5 separate regions of the Homo sapiens genome follow, and regions 1, 2, 3 and 5 are each linked to region 4. The links are contacts of gene promoters, found by promoter capture Hi-C in blood cells and fetal thymus (Javierre and others, 2016). All regions are on one chromosome and are shown on one strand. Each heading gives the region's core, a stretch centred on a gene start or on the middle of the fragment in contact. The rest is flanking DNA. Distances are from core to core; before and after follow the strand shown. Region 1 has its middle 77 kb from the start of FRMD4B. Region 2 has its middle 17 kb from the start of FRMD4B. Region 3 overlaps FRMD4B (FERM domain containing 4B). Region 4 holds the start of LMOD3 (leiomodin 3). Region 5 has its middle 59 kb from the start of FRMD4B.

Region 1 (2,700 bases), core at 86-2,585, 340 kb before region 4:
GAAAGAAAAACACCATTTCCAGGCCTTATCTGCCTTAGAAATCATATATAGGTGACAGTTTACTTTCTGGCCTGCAGACAGTCTATGGGTAAGGGCGCTGATAATGTTATGTTATCCTACTGCACTCACTTGCCAAGCTAGCATATTTCCAAGGCACTCTAAATGGTCAAAAAATACCTCTGTCCTGTTACCAGAAAACCTCCTGGCCAACATACCCTTCCCATTTCTGACAGGATAGGTATTAATGGGCAAAAAAAGTTACCAGCATGTATTTTAAATTACTATAAGCAAAAGTTTAATACAAATCAGTTGATCATTTATTCAGAAAGTCAGCCTTAGTTGCTGCTATAACCTCAGAATTGAGAGCAGCAGAGTCTGCACGTGGTAGTTGCCCCATAAATATGTTTGAATGGGTACGAGTTAAGTAAAGGGTGTACTGTACTTTTCCAAATGGATCAAGGTGAGGCTTCACTTATTCACAGTTTACTCCCTCTGGCTTCCAGGGTAGTGTTTCAGCAACCTGCCTGCTGTGGGAATAAGTGATCAATCATCTTCTGTGATACCCAGTAATCTTTCTACTGGGTGGATCTCTAATAGCCTTTCAAAGCTGTACTCAGGAGATGAGGCAGTCATTTCTTTGTGCAGAGAGAGCCCTCCTTTTGCAAATTTCCTTGTCCCTTTAGCTTTATGCATCATGAGCCAAAGTTTGCTTATGGATTTCCGTAGAGTCATGGTTACTAATAGGGAGTTTCTCTTCAGATAACTTATATGTAGAGTATTTTATGAAAGAGCATAAGACTTGGAGGCAGATGCAGTCTGGCTCAAATCCCAACCTTGCCTCTATTACATTGTGTCATCTCAAGTCACTACTCAGCCTAACTGGAGACTTAGTTTCCTAATCTATAAGCCAAAGATAATAGCTATCCTAAAGACTTATAATGAAGATAAAAAATTAGGATCTATAATGCACTGAGGTCATTGCTTTGAATATCACTCATTAAATGAAAATGTTTTGATCGTGAACTTTAAATACCAATATTTGTAATTATTTTGGTCTACCCTGGAAGTGGTATATGGTATGTGTACTTCAATGGACCAGAATTATGAGAAAAACTCAAAATATACCAAGTTAGAGGTAAGTCCTCACCCAGGTTCCCTGGAAAACAGATCCCCCAGGCAAAACTGTATGTGTTAGATTCTACGATTGTCATTTATTTGATATTCTAGGACAGGTAAAGCTTGATACTGAAATAAATCAGAACAGTGGTTGCCTAGGAATGTGAGAAGAGTGGATTGACTGGTGAGGGGTCTAAGGAAACTTCCTGGGCTGATGGTTGCTCTAGATCTGGATGCAAGGGTGGGTCACATAGGTGTAGGCATTTGTCAAAACTTACTGCATGCAGATTATGTTCCATTACAAAATGAAAGCTTGGGTACTAGCACTTTATTGGGGAGTGCAATCCCAGGGAAGCAGGTGTGAGTGTGAATAAGAAGGAGTGAGCAGGGAGGGCAAGGAGGTGAATACAAGGAAGTGCATCATAGATGAGAAAGCTGGCTTTGTGACAAGCTGACTACATGGTCTTCCAGGGGTGTCTTGGGAGAAGCCATATGAAATTATTATGCTTCTGAGCAGTGCAGGGGGAGAGAGGAAGAAGAGTTCATTGGTCATTTCCCTGAGAGGCCAGGAGGAATCGCCTGCCACAAGTACCTCAGTTGGTGACTGTGGCAGAGGCCTTGGCTACCTGGCTGTACAGCAAGCCATTGCCAGGGCCTCTCAGGCCAGAAACAAGGCCAGTGCACAGATATTGGGTGATGCACAAGTGACTCAGGTGTAGGCACAGGGAGTTCTATGCATGGTTAAGGGTAAGCTGTGCAGAGCCAGAATGCATGAGTCAAGATCCTGTCTCCACCACTCACCAATTATGTAGCTTTGGGCAAGTGACTTAACCTTACCAAGCTTCAGTCTCCCTGTAGCTGTGCTGTTAGTGGCCCTGGGCCTACCCCAGAAGTTGTCTTCAGACAGTTCTCATGCACCCTGACAAGGCTGTTTGTGTCTTTTACCTGAGGGCTTTCTCTAGCCACAGAAGTGAACTGCTTCTTGCTATGGGACAGGCCAGACATCAGGGAAAGAGAGGGAACATTTCCAGGAGTGACCCTCAACCAATGAGGAGTAAAACTGCAGGATAAAACTGCGGCCTCCTAGCCCCTCCATGGGAACATTCTGAGGCATGCTCACACAGTCTCTCAGACAGTTCCCGGCAAGACTGAGCTCTGGTTACTTGCGGCTCTGGTTACTGTTCACGAAGACACCATGTTTTGGCATCCTTCCCTTCCCTGACTCCATTCCTCACTTCCCTACCTATGCTTCCTGGTAATATTTCCCAGAAAAAATCCTCCTCCCTGACTCCTTGTCTCAGCATCTGCTTTTTGAAAGACCCAACCTCAGGATATCACCCGTAAGCAAAATATTGTGAGGATTCATTGGGATAATATAGAGAAGGCCCCCAGAGCAGGCCTGCCTCTTACTAAGTATAAAATAAATGGAGCAATCATTTTGGCTGTTTCACCTACAGGAAGGATGCCATGTTATTTGTCATCCAAACGGGACACTTTTGAGAGGGAAAGTGGCACTCTGTTAATTACTCAGAGACAACAGGTAAAAACTGGGGCCGTCCTGGAAAAATCCAGGATATATTGTTA
Region 2 (2,700 bases), core at 87-2,586, 280 kb before region 4:
TGCTTCTAACTCTAATAATCACATCTCAAAGCCAGAGTTACATTTTCTATCCTTAATATTCAAGAAAGTAATACTATGAAAGAATCCTCTGGATCAGAAAGCCTGTGCATTTATTTAATTTTATTTTTTCTGAATTCTGTTATTGGAGAGAAATCTTATGGGCAAAAATACACTCACACTGTATTTTCTATTTGCGATTTTCTTCAAGAAAATCCAAAAGAAAACATTCTTAGGAGACCAGGCACATTGGTTCAGGCCTGTAATCTCAGTGCTTTGGGAGGCTGAGACAAGAGGATCACTTGAAGCCAAGAGCTCAAGGCCAACCTGGGCAATATAGTGAGACCTGTTTCTACAAAAACATTTTTTTAAACAGCCAGGTGTGGTGTTGGATGCCTATAGTCCTAGCTACTTGAGAGGCTGAGGCAGGAAGATTGCTTGAGCCCAGGAATTCAAGGCTGTGAGCATAATTGTGCCACTGCACTCCAGAGCCCGGGTGACAAGAGAGACCCTGTCTCTAAAATTAACAAAATAATATTTTAGGGATAGACATGTCTCTGATTCTGGTTAGAATAAAATGTGCAAAGAGAGACCTGTGTGTGTGTGTGTTGAGGTGGGGGGAGTGGGGTACGCATGCGTGCTTATGCACACTTTTGGAATAGAGATAGAGAATGCTGTACTATACTTCATAAGTGGAGTATACTTGAACTTGTAAGGTTCAAATGTCCATATGCCTCTTTTATTTTCAAGCTGATTGCGTTAGGTGTATATTTAAGCTTTCTATACTTCCAAAACCTGTCTTGCCTGTTTCTCCTCTCTGTGAAGTTTTCTATGACTGTTTGAATAGTGCTGACATTTCATAGTCTCAGGGTTTAGTAGCAACGGCAGGAATGGGGTTAGCTTCCCCACTCATTTCAGGGGGAAGGGTTCCTTTCTTCCTTACTGAGATTTCCCTGTCACTGAGCCCTGTTGTTTTGCTAGCAGAAGGCCTCTGTTACAATGCTATGTTACATGGCATTCCTTGTATCTAGCATTAATTGAATCCTTTGGTTAATGAAAATAACTGCCCAGTTGAGCCAGTTTTAAAATGGGGACAGTGAGAATACTTCTGAGTTGTTGAGAACATTAACATGGCTTGGTGGGTGTGAAACCCCATAAGTCAATGCCTGCACATAGCTTCTTTTCTAAGGAATATCAGGAAGGAATGATTTTTTTTCTTTTCTGAGGAATATTTGGGTGTTCATTAGAGGCCCCTGAACCCTTGCTAAGTTTCAAAGCACCTCTGTGATCCAGGCAGTTCTTACAAATGAAGTAGAGGGGATCTGATTTAGCCTTTCTGTTTTATTAGTGTGGACACAGACCCAGTATCTTCAGGGTCCTCCAAACATCTAGCTACTGCTGGCATATCCTCCTGGATGTTCCAGATATAAAATGTTGTTTCTCTTCTCTGCCGTATTCTGTGTTTGAATGATTAATACCATAATACAGAAATTCCAGGGCTATGCTTCCTTTAAACAAAATAATCTTCTGGAGTCTTTTTCAATCACTCTCCATCCAGTGATTTTCATATGTATATCTCATTGATTCCTGATTCTTTTTGATTTACTGTCTGTCATGTGCAATCTGACTAATGTATTGAGGTCAATTATTGCACTGTCTCCTGATGCCAATAATTCTCACCTACCCTCATGTCATACTGTCTATAATCTGGGTTGCTTATTTAGCTATTTGGTATCCACGAGATCTAGAGGCAATGGGAAATTCATTTTGTACATCTTATGTTTGATATTTGGTTCAATTCAGCCCTACATATATGAATTACGCACCTCCTATATCTGAGATACTGTGTTAGGTTTTGGGATACAAAGATAAACAAAACATCCTCCCCTTCTCAAAGCTTTCAGTCCAGTGTAAAGTATATCATTAAAGATCTCCTAAAGTAAGAGAGAACCCACACATTAATTGGGTTAATAAGGTAATAAGGAAAGATATTATTTCATATGTCATAAGGAAATCTATTATGTTAAGATATCCTGAGGTAGGGCAGCTCACACACAATACTTGAAGGCTCCAGTTTCTCATCTTGGTAATTGCCTTGTTTAAAAATCAGCTCTCTGTATTGGCTTCATCCTCATTGTGGCAACAAGATGGCTCAACCAGAGTTAAGCTAGGTTTCCCAGAAGCCCCCTCAGTAGATATCCCCTTTGGTCTTAATGGGCAAAGCTGATCACATGCCCTTTCCTAAACCAATCACTTGACAGGGAGGATGGGATTACCATACCTGCCCTAGGCCTGTCCTTTTGGGTAGAACGGATATTGGATAATCACCCATGACTGCAATAGTTGGGCAGACATGAGAAATAGGAAATTCACTGCAGTTGTGTTATTAACATATGCTGAGACAGGAGGCTGTATAAGATCCCACAAGAATTGCCTACGCACAGGCTACTGCATTTAATCATTTATTATGAAAAACATTTTATTTTTACTAAACTAAAAGTTTTTCTGAAGTCTGTATAGATTACAGTGGTTGTATCTCCTCTTGTTGACCCCTGTGCTTCTTACACTGAGATGTTTGTGCTCTCGGCCAGGCACGGTGGCTAATGCTTTGTAGTCTCAGCACTTTGGGAGGCCGAGGCAGGCAGATCGCTTGAGTCCAGGAGTTTGAGACCAGCTTGGGCAACAAGGCAAAACCCCATCTCT
Region 3 (2,700 bases), core at 132-2,631, 260 kb before region 4:
CTGCGGAGATGGTACACGGAGAGGCTGCGGGCTTGCCACCAGGTGCTGCGGACGTGGTGCGGGCTGCAGGACGTGTACCAGGTGAGCTGGAGCGCGCGGCACCCGAGGGCCCCAGCAGGATGCCGGGCACTCGTGGGAAGCAGGCTCCACCTGTATGATTTTATTCCCCCCAGCTCTTCTTAAACTCCTAGCAGACTGCTTGGCCCTTGGGTCAAACGCTCAGCAGCTCTAGGTAATTATTGCTTGACAGAGCTTGTGAATTTTTCAAATCGGGCATGGGGGGCACTTGCGAGATAGTCCCAGCGTTTGCAGACATCTGTTACAGAGCAATGGTGTACTGGCGGGCGCTTGACTAGGGAGGCTGTTGCTTTGCAACAGAGGGTCTTCAGAAAGCCACTTAGACATTCAAATGAGTCCTTCTTTTTAATTTCATTGGGGGTGGGAGTGGCTGCTTCTGAAGCAACGGTTTCACACCAATTTGCTGGCAGAGGGGGCCTTGGTGGATTTTTATCCTTCCGTTGGATTTTCAGTTTTCCATCAGGCAGCCCCAACTTGTAAGGCAGAGCCAGGAAAAGCTGATTCTGTGTCTACTGGCTTTTGGAAGGAAGGACAGCAAATTGTGAACACTTTGCAGGAGGATGACAGGCTGGGGAAGGGAGGGGTGGCCCGGCTACACGTTGGAATGCTCATGTTAGGATTTACTCCCTGTCACACAACACAGCCCCTTTATTTCTCTGCTCGGTCCCATCCTGCAGGCAAAAAATGCAGCAACTTTGCTCAACTAGGAGACCATTCATCCTCTCTGGTACTGCAGTTTGCCTGGATTTCTTTTTTTTTTTTTAGACAGTAATTTATGAATTTAAAAGTTCTGTGCTTTGGTTGTTAATATATTTGAGATTTTTAAAAATCTGCATTGTTTAGAAATATACTTGGTGTCTACTGTGGAAAGATAATATCATATTTTCTTTCCTGTGATGTGGAATAGCTTTGTTGCAGTTCCTGGATTTCCCCCCATTTGACCCTGTTCCTAATATGTCTAGAATTTATGTCTTATTATATTGTGTCTCATACATGATCAAGCACTTGATTTTGACAAACCATAATCTTCCATCAATCAGGCAAAATGAAAAGGCCAGCACCTAAGGTTAGCCTGTGGAAGTCTAAAGAGTCAGCGTCCCCTTGTCACCCTTGTTAAAATATGAGGAACATTTGAACTTGTGCTTTCACTGCTTCTGCTTTGTATAACATATCTGTGATATCTTGCATTTTGAAATGGAATCTGAAAGGCAGGTTGGGAACCAGGGCAGCATGTGGGAGTTTGAGAGTATTAGGGAATTGTGGATATATCCCATCTGGCCACATTACATAGCTCTCTGGCTTTTTGGAGCCAGAAGTGTGTCTGTCTTTCAAGCCTTTTTTTTCCTCTCTTGGGAAATCCCTGTTCAGTTTGGTCTGTAGAATAAGTGCCCCTTATGTAATTTTGTTTTTCCTTTTTAGTGTTTGAGAAACTTTCAAAAAGGGAACGCAAATATTGTAGCCAACCAGAGTGACTCTGTGCCTCACTCCCCAAGGATTCAGAGGATTTATGGCTTATCTGTAATACTGTTACTGACCAATTCAAAAATAAAGATTCCAGAAACCTGAGACCTTATGGATTCTTTATAAGGTTGACTGATAATTTTTATGCAGAATAGCAATTTGAGACACTGAGCTACTAAAATATATGTATTTTTTTCTTTTCTCTAAAATGGATGGTGACTGAGCCAATACCATATCATAATTGATAAGAACATCTAAAATAATGGTGGTAGTCAGGCAGTGTGCTGTGTGTCTATAATCCCAGCTACTCAGAAGGCTGAGGCAGGAAGATCCCTTGAGCCCAGGAGTTTGAGGCCAGCCCGGGCAACATAGTGAGACCCATCTCTTAAAAAAATAAAAAATAAAAAAAAAATAAGTCCCCACTCCTTATTTTTAACTTTAATCAATTGTACATTTCAAAATAACTAGAAGAGAATAATTTGAATGTTTCTAGCACGAAGAAAAGATAACGGTTGGGCACCATGGCTCATGCCTGTAATCCCAACATTTTGGGAGGCTGAAGTGAGAGGATCACTTGAGCCCAGGAGTTCAAGACCAGTCTGAGCAACATAGTGAGACCCCATCTCTACAAAAAATTTAAAAATCAGCCAGGTATAGCGTCATGAACCTGTGGTTCTCTCTGCTCAAGACGTTGAGGCAGGAGGATCACTTGAGCCCAGGAGTTCAATGCTGCAGTGAGCCATAATTGTCCCACTGCACTTCAGCCTAAGTGACAGAGGGAGACCTCCTCTAAAAAATTAATTAATTAAAATATTTAAAGCATTGGCTATCCCAATAACCCTGCTTTGATTATATGAATGTGTCACATTATCACATGTACCCCCGAACTATGTACATCTAATATGTATCAATGAAAATAAATAACAAAGGCTTTTATGAATACAGAATCAGAAGAAAATGATCTCTAAGTTTAATATTTCCTGTGCTTTTGCAAAAATAAGATTTTCAAAAATATTTTCAGCCTTTGAATATTCTTAATTGTGCAACATAATCCTTTGCAAAGGAAGATCATTTTTTAATGCTTTTCAAATATTAAGTGAAAAAGTAGTGACTTAATTGTGTAGAACTAAAAGACAGTAACTGCAAGTTAAATAGACAAGG
Region 4 (2,700 bases), core at 39-2,538:
TGTTAATAGTGGTAGCTTCACAGTGAGGTAAGGGGAAGATTTTGTTCTGTGCCTTTCTATGTTATCCTAACTCTTGTACAATGAATGTATATTTCGGAATAAGAATATATTTACGAGCCAGGCACGGTGGCTCACGCCTGTAATCCCAGAACTTTGGGACACCGAGGCAGGTGGATTGCTTGAACTCAGAAATTCGAGACCAGCCTGAGCAATATGGCAAAACCCTGTCTCTACAAAAAATACAATTAGCTGGGTGTAGTGGTGCATGCCTGTGGTCCCAGCTTGATCCTGGGAGGCAGAGGTTGCAGTGAGCTGAGATCGCAGCACTGCCCTCCAGCCTGGGTGACAGAGCCAGACCCTGTCTTAAATATATATATAATAAAACTTGTATATTATATATTATTGTACCCTTTGTCACACAAATAATGGCATGTAAAACACACTGTTTTGTACTTTGCTATATTGTGTAACCTTGTACACACGTTGTTTCACCCATGTAGGGGTATATCTGTAGGATACACTTCTCAAAGTGGAATTGCTGGGTCAAAGGAAATGGGCATTTGTAATTTGGACAAATGTTGCATATTGCCCCTTCAGGGTTTGAAAACAAAATCTTCTCATAGTTTCTTTTAGTATATTAGTGGTCTGGATTTCTTTTTTAACACTTCACTTTAGAGCCATTTTCATTGATATTGGCTTAATGGATACTTAATAAGAAAAGCAAATAATTTAAAATATTAAACTCACTTATAGTGGAAATCCAAGTGCTGGTTGTCCCCATCTGTTAGATCACAGGATCTAGATGCAAACAGGACATCTTGCAAAGGTTCGGCTTACACAGAGGATGAGTGACATAGCAAGACCTCTGTTCCACTGTGCACCACTTTATTTGCTTCCACACTCACCTTGTAGGGAAGAGGCAGACCCTAAGAGCTTGATTTCTACCTTCAAGTGAATTCTTTACTTCAGAAACAACTCAGGTTGCTGGTTGGATTTCCCTTCTGAAATATTGTAAGTTGCTTTAATATTTAAATAAAAACAAGTGGAATCCCCTGGAGTATTGGGGTATGTATGTATGAGCTGCATGAATTTGTGTATGGCAATATGATGGCATATAGGAAGATAATTAATTTTATTCCTGCAGAGATTCTGTAGTCTCTGCTAGTCTCTGGCAAACATAGCAGCTGTACTGAAATGTCAGATGGATTTGCGCAGCTGACTCAAGTTGCCAAAAAGAGAGCAGCATAGTTGTTCCATAAATTGACCCCATCCAGCCAAGCCCTGCTTAATATAGATCCGGCAAGAGCTTAGCTGTGATCACTCCTAGCTGCTCAGCAAACCACTGAGGTTCCTGGGAAAAAAAAAAAAATATCTCAAGGGTGTGTTAACTTGGGACACTCGTTAACTGGGGGACCTTCTTGAGGCTTTTTTCCTTCTTTTTAAAAATCATCTTTGATTATTCTTCTTTTCTAGTAAAATAATATTTAGAAAAAATAATGTCAGAGCACAGCAGAAATTCAGATCAAGAAGAACTTCTCGATGAGGAGATTAATGAAGATGAAATCTTGGCCAACTTGTCTGCTGAAGAACTGAAAGAACTGCAGTCGGAAATGGAAGTCATGGCCCCTGACCCCAGCCTTCCCGTGGGAATGATTCAGAAAGATCAAACTGACAAGCCACCGACAGGAAACTTCAATCATAAATCTCTTGTTGATTATATGTATTGGGAAAAGGCATCCAGGCGCATGCTGGAAGAGGAACGAGTTCCTGTCACCTTTGTGAAATCCGAGGTAACCAGAGATTTGTGTACAACCGAGAAATGGCTGCCTGGGATGGGCTGTTAGGTCTCTCTGTTGTAACTGTGATTTCTCAAGACTCCAGGGTTTGGTTCTGCTTTGTTTTTGCCATATCTAGATTAAACCATAATATTTAATCCTACTCCGACTGGAACTTTCTGAAACACATTTATATTTACAAGGGGAAAATTGGGTAATTTCTTGCAAATGTCTCTTTTTAAAAATTGCTGTCGGGTTTGCTGTGTCAGAAAGCCTGTGTTCTATTGCCACGATACTTAGTGACTTAACTCATAACCCAGAGGCAGTTGTCCTTACCTCTCTCTTTCTTTTTTATTGCAGGCCCCTTTGAGAAAGTAATGACAGCTCTGTAGCCTCTGTCTCTCTGGCACATCCAAACATACGCAGTGTTTCGCACACAGTGTCAAACATTTCAGTCCTCCTGAAGTCTGGCCACACAACCTGCAATTAAACCAAGTCGAATAACCAGAAAATGTCTTATATTATTACTATGTATTGGCTGTCAGTGATGACATTTAGAAATCGATGGCTATTAAGTGGTTTTGAAGCTAGTTCTTCACTTTCTAAAACCTGAAAGCTAGAATTGTTAACTCTGCAAACTTACTGTGCATGAGCATAATTTTTTTTTTTATGTTCCACTTGAAAATGACTTAACAAAAAGAGGACAGAGATGCCTCCTAGGTAAAGTCTCTTTAGGTTATGCCTGTTTACAAAGATACATCTTGTTAAATTACTCTGAAGCTGGCTGTAATTAAGGAAAGTTGTCAATTGGTTTTACAGTCAGTAGAGTTTAAACATGTGCTAAGATTAAGAAAAGAAACAGCTGGATTGATCAGGTTAGAGTTCAAGGTACAATTTGCAGATTTTTTACAACTGGAGATCAATG
Region 5 (2,700 bases), core at 176-2,675, 320 kb before region 4:
TCATTTGACTGATGTCTCCAAAGGGTCTTGTGTTTTCAGAGGAATGCGCTCCATGTCAGAGATTCTAAACTAGTTGTGGGGTGACAATGAGGATATTCACAGAGAGTGAGATATGTGTCTTCTGCAAATTAACTTGTCTTCCAAGCAACAAATTGAGTTTTAACTCTGAGTAGAGGGAGAACATTGAAAATTGGGTTCTAACTTAATCTAAAATAACACATGGCCTGGCGCGGGTGACTCACGCCTGTAATCTCAGCATTTTGAGAGGCCAAGGTGGGCTGATCACCTGAGGTGAGTTCGAGACTGGCCTGGCCAACATAACGGAACCTCATCTTTACTAAAAATGTGAAAATTAGCCAGGTGTGGTGGTGTGTGCCTTTATTCTCAGCTACTAGGGAGGCTGAGGCAGGAGAATCAGTTGAACCAGGGAGGCAGAGGTTGCAGTGAGCTGAGATCGCACCACTGCACTCCAGCCAGGATGACAGATTGAGACTCCATCTCAAGAAAAAAAATAAAAAAATTTGTAGGCTAGTCACGGTGGCTCACGCCTGCAAACCCAGCACTTTATGAGGCTAAAGTGGGCAGATCATTAAGTCAGGAGTTCGAGACCAGCTTAACCAACATGAGGAAACCTCGTCTCTACGAAAAATACAAAAATTAGCCAGGCATGGTGGTACATGCCTGTAATCCCAGCTACTCAGGAGGCTGAGGCAGGAGAATCACTTGATCCTGGGAGGCGGAGGTTATAGTGAGTTAAGATCACGCCACTGCACTCCAGCCTGGGTGACAAAGTCAGACTCCATCTCAGAAAATAAATAAATAAATAAATCAACACATACATTCATTTGACAAATAGTCACTGAGTATCTACTATGTGCATTGTCCCAGGCTACGAGGATGTAGCAGTGAACAGGACAAAGCAATATCTCCCTCCTCTTGGAGGTGAAATTCTAGTGGGACAAGAAAGCCAGCAAGCAAATAAACAGTGTAATTTCAGGACCAGACAGAAAATAAACAGGAGTAGAGAATAACACAAACGTAGCTTAATACTATTTAGGATATAGTGATCTGGGAAGGTCATGCGAGTTGAATTCGAATTATGAGATGGAGCCAGCTATGTGAAGATCCAGAGAAATAACAATCCAAGCAGTGACTCAGCAAGTGCCAAGTCCCTGCAGTGAGAATGGACTTGACCCAGTAAGGTGGGAAAAGGAGGCCAATGTGGGGTGTATTGAGAGTGAAGGGAAGACTGGCATGAAATGAGATTTCAGAGGTAGATAGGAATCCACATAGGAGCTGGAGTTTAAGTGTTAGTCTATGTAAAATCAGAAGTCACTGAGGAGTTTTAAGCAGGGGGTTTAATGAATGAGAAGTGGGATGATGCGGAGGAAGAATATACAGGTTTATGGCCTGAGCAGCCAAGGTTTGGCAGGAATCTTTCTTAGGAGGCCACCTGGAGTGATTGGCTAGGGTGTCTGCACTCTTTGTCTGCTGTTAGAGCAGAGACCGAATTGCTCCGAAGACTGGAATAGCAGTATTTGTAAATATCCTGTGACGTGAACTCTGGTTATAAAGACTGCATCGTCCCCCTTCTGTGATTCTCCAGACATGCTAATAAGTGGGTGCTGGAAATGTCATGATCTTCTAATCACAACCTTCTTTTTATGAGCCTTTTCAGCAGACACCCGTTCAGGGCAAGCTCCAAACCCTTTCTGGCTGCTGTCGTTTCTGGCGGGTATGTCACTTGTATGCATCACTCTGACCGCAGCGGGAGTGCTCGGAGGAGTTTACTTTTGCTTTGCGAGACTTTTTGGAAGGTTGTCTATTTTTATTAATTGTGGCATAGGAATTACTTTGTCAGAAATTTTGGAGCCCAGGAGTCTAAAAAATTACAGGGTATTATTAAATATTTAAGAATTGCTTAATTTCTCCACGTGGTATGAGATTTTGGCTGAAATTGGATCCTTGGGCTATTTACATCTAGTTTAGCATTACAGAGCCAGTTTTGCCTATTAAAACAAGTTTGAAAATTGTTTAAAACAATCTGGTGGATAAGTGTGTGTAGAGATTTTGTTGTTTCTTTATGTTCGTGGAGATGAGTAGTGAACATAGCACTGAAACAGAAGCAATCATCTTAGCTTGTGAAAATCCTGTTTGAGTAATAATGGGAAATGTTATCTTTTAAAATGTTTTGGTTATTTTCTTTTCCATTACAAACATGATATAAGTTCCTCCTAGAAAATTTGGAAGGTATGGGGTGAGAGTCAGGCGTAACCTAATCACACAGAAATCCATGAGATGTTGAAGTCTCATAAAATGATAGAGCTGGAATGCACTTTTATAACTATGTGGTTGAAAGAAAAAAACAACTTTATGTCAATAATCACAACACTTCTGATACCAAATGTGTGGATTTTCCACACTAAGCAGTCAGTTCTCCAACTCCTCATACACCAACTGGATGTCCTCAATTCAATTCAGTTCAATTTTGATTTCACAAAATCTACCTGAAATTAGCATCAGATACTGTAATCACCCAAATGTGTTCTTCTTGCCCGCTGCACAGATAAACCCAATTCACTGAGACAGCATTATTGCAGTAAACAAAGAGTTTAATTAATGCAAGGCTGGCCAAGCAGAAGGATTGGGGCTGTTACTCAAATCAGTCTCCCCAAAGACGCTAGGGTTTTTCAAGGATAG

The links. Contacts are between HindIII fragments. The CHiCAGO score rates a contact against its expected background, and 5 or more counts as called.
Region 1: a fragment that was not itself captured here is called in contact with the fragment with the promoter of LMOD3 in region 4 in 1 of 17 cell types (activated CD4 T cells); the score reaches 5.6 in activated CD4 T cells.
Region 2: a fragment that was not itself captured here is called in contact with the fragment with the promoter of LMOD3 in region 4 in 5 of 17 cell types (activated CD4 T cells, fetal thymus, neutrophils and 2 more); the score reaches 14.9 in activated CD4 T cells.
Region 3: a fragment that was not itself captured here is called in contact with the fragment with the promoter of LMOD3 in region 4 in 3 of 17 cell types (neutrophils, fetal thymus and activated CD4 T cells); the score reaches 6.9 in neutrophils.
Region 5: a fragment that was not itself captured here is called in contact with the fragment with the promoter of LMOD3 in region 4 in 4 of 17 cell types (fetal thymus, activated CD4 T cells, endothelial precursors and 1 more); the score reaches 10.7 in fetal thymus.

The regions. Positions count from the first base shown.
Region 1 is chr3:69,461,781-69,464,480 of GRCh38, reverse strand. It overlaps a transcript of FRMD4B not described here. Among named protein-coding and RNA genes, the nearest start is that of FRMD4B, 77 kb to the right of the region's middle. RefSeq lists an enhancer at 1,547-2,047. The HindIII fragment of the contact is 190 bases long and covers 1,241-1,430 here.
Region 2 is chr3:69,401,732-69,404,431 of GRCh38, reverse strand. It overlaps a transcript of FRMD4B not described here. Among named protein-coding and RNA genes, the nearest start is that of FRMD4B, 17 kb to the right of the region's middle. The HindIII fragment of the contact is 1,121 bases long and covers 776-1,896 here.
Region 3 is chr3:69,383,209-69,385,908 of GRCh38, reverse strand. FRMD4B (FERM domain containing 4B) reads left to right here. Exons shown (of 23, transcript NM_015123.3): 1 at 1-81. Among named protein-coding and RNA genes, the nearest start is that of FRMD4B, 1.5 kb to the left of the region's middle. RefSeq lists an enhancer at 1-354. The HindIII fragment of the contact is 6,135 bases long and covers 1-2,700 here.
Region 4 is chr3:69,121,183-69,123,882 of GRCh38, reverse strand. It overlaps LMOD3 (leiomodin 3), which reads left to right and starts at 1,288. Exons shown (of 3, transcript NM_198271.5): 1 at 1,288-1,790. The coding sequence starts at 1,497. RefSeq lists an enhancer at 1,234-2,433. The HindIII fragment of the contact is 5,880 bases long and covers 1-2,700 here.
Region 5 is chr3:69,444,152-69,446,851 of GRCh38, reverse strand. It overlaps a transcript of FRMD4B not described here. Among named protein-coding and RNA genes, the nearest start is that of FRMD4B, 59 kb to the right of the region's middle. The HindIII fragment of the contact is 3,348 bases long and covers 1-2,700 here.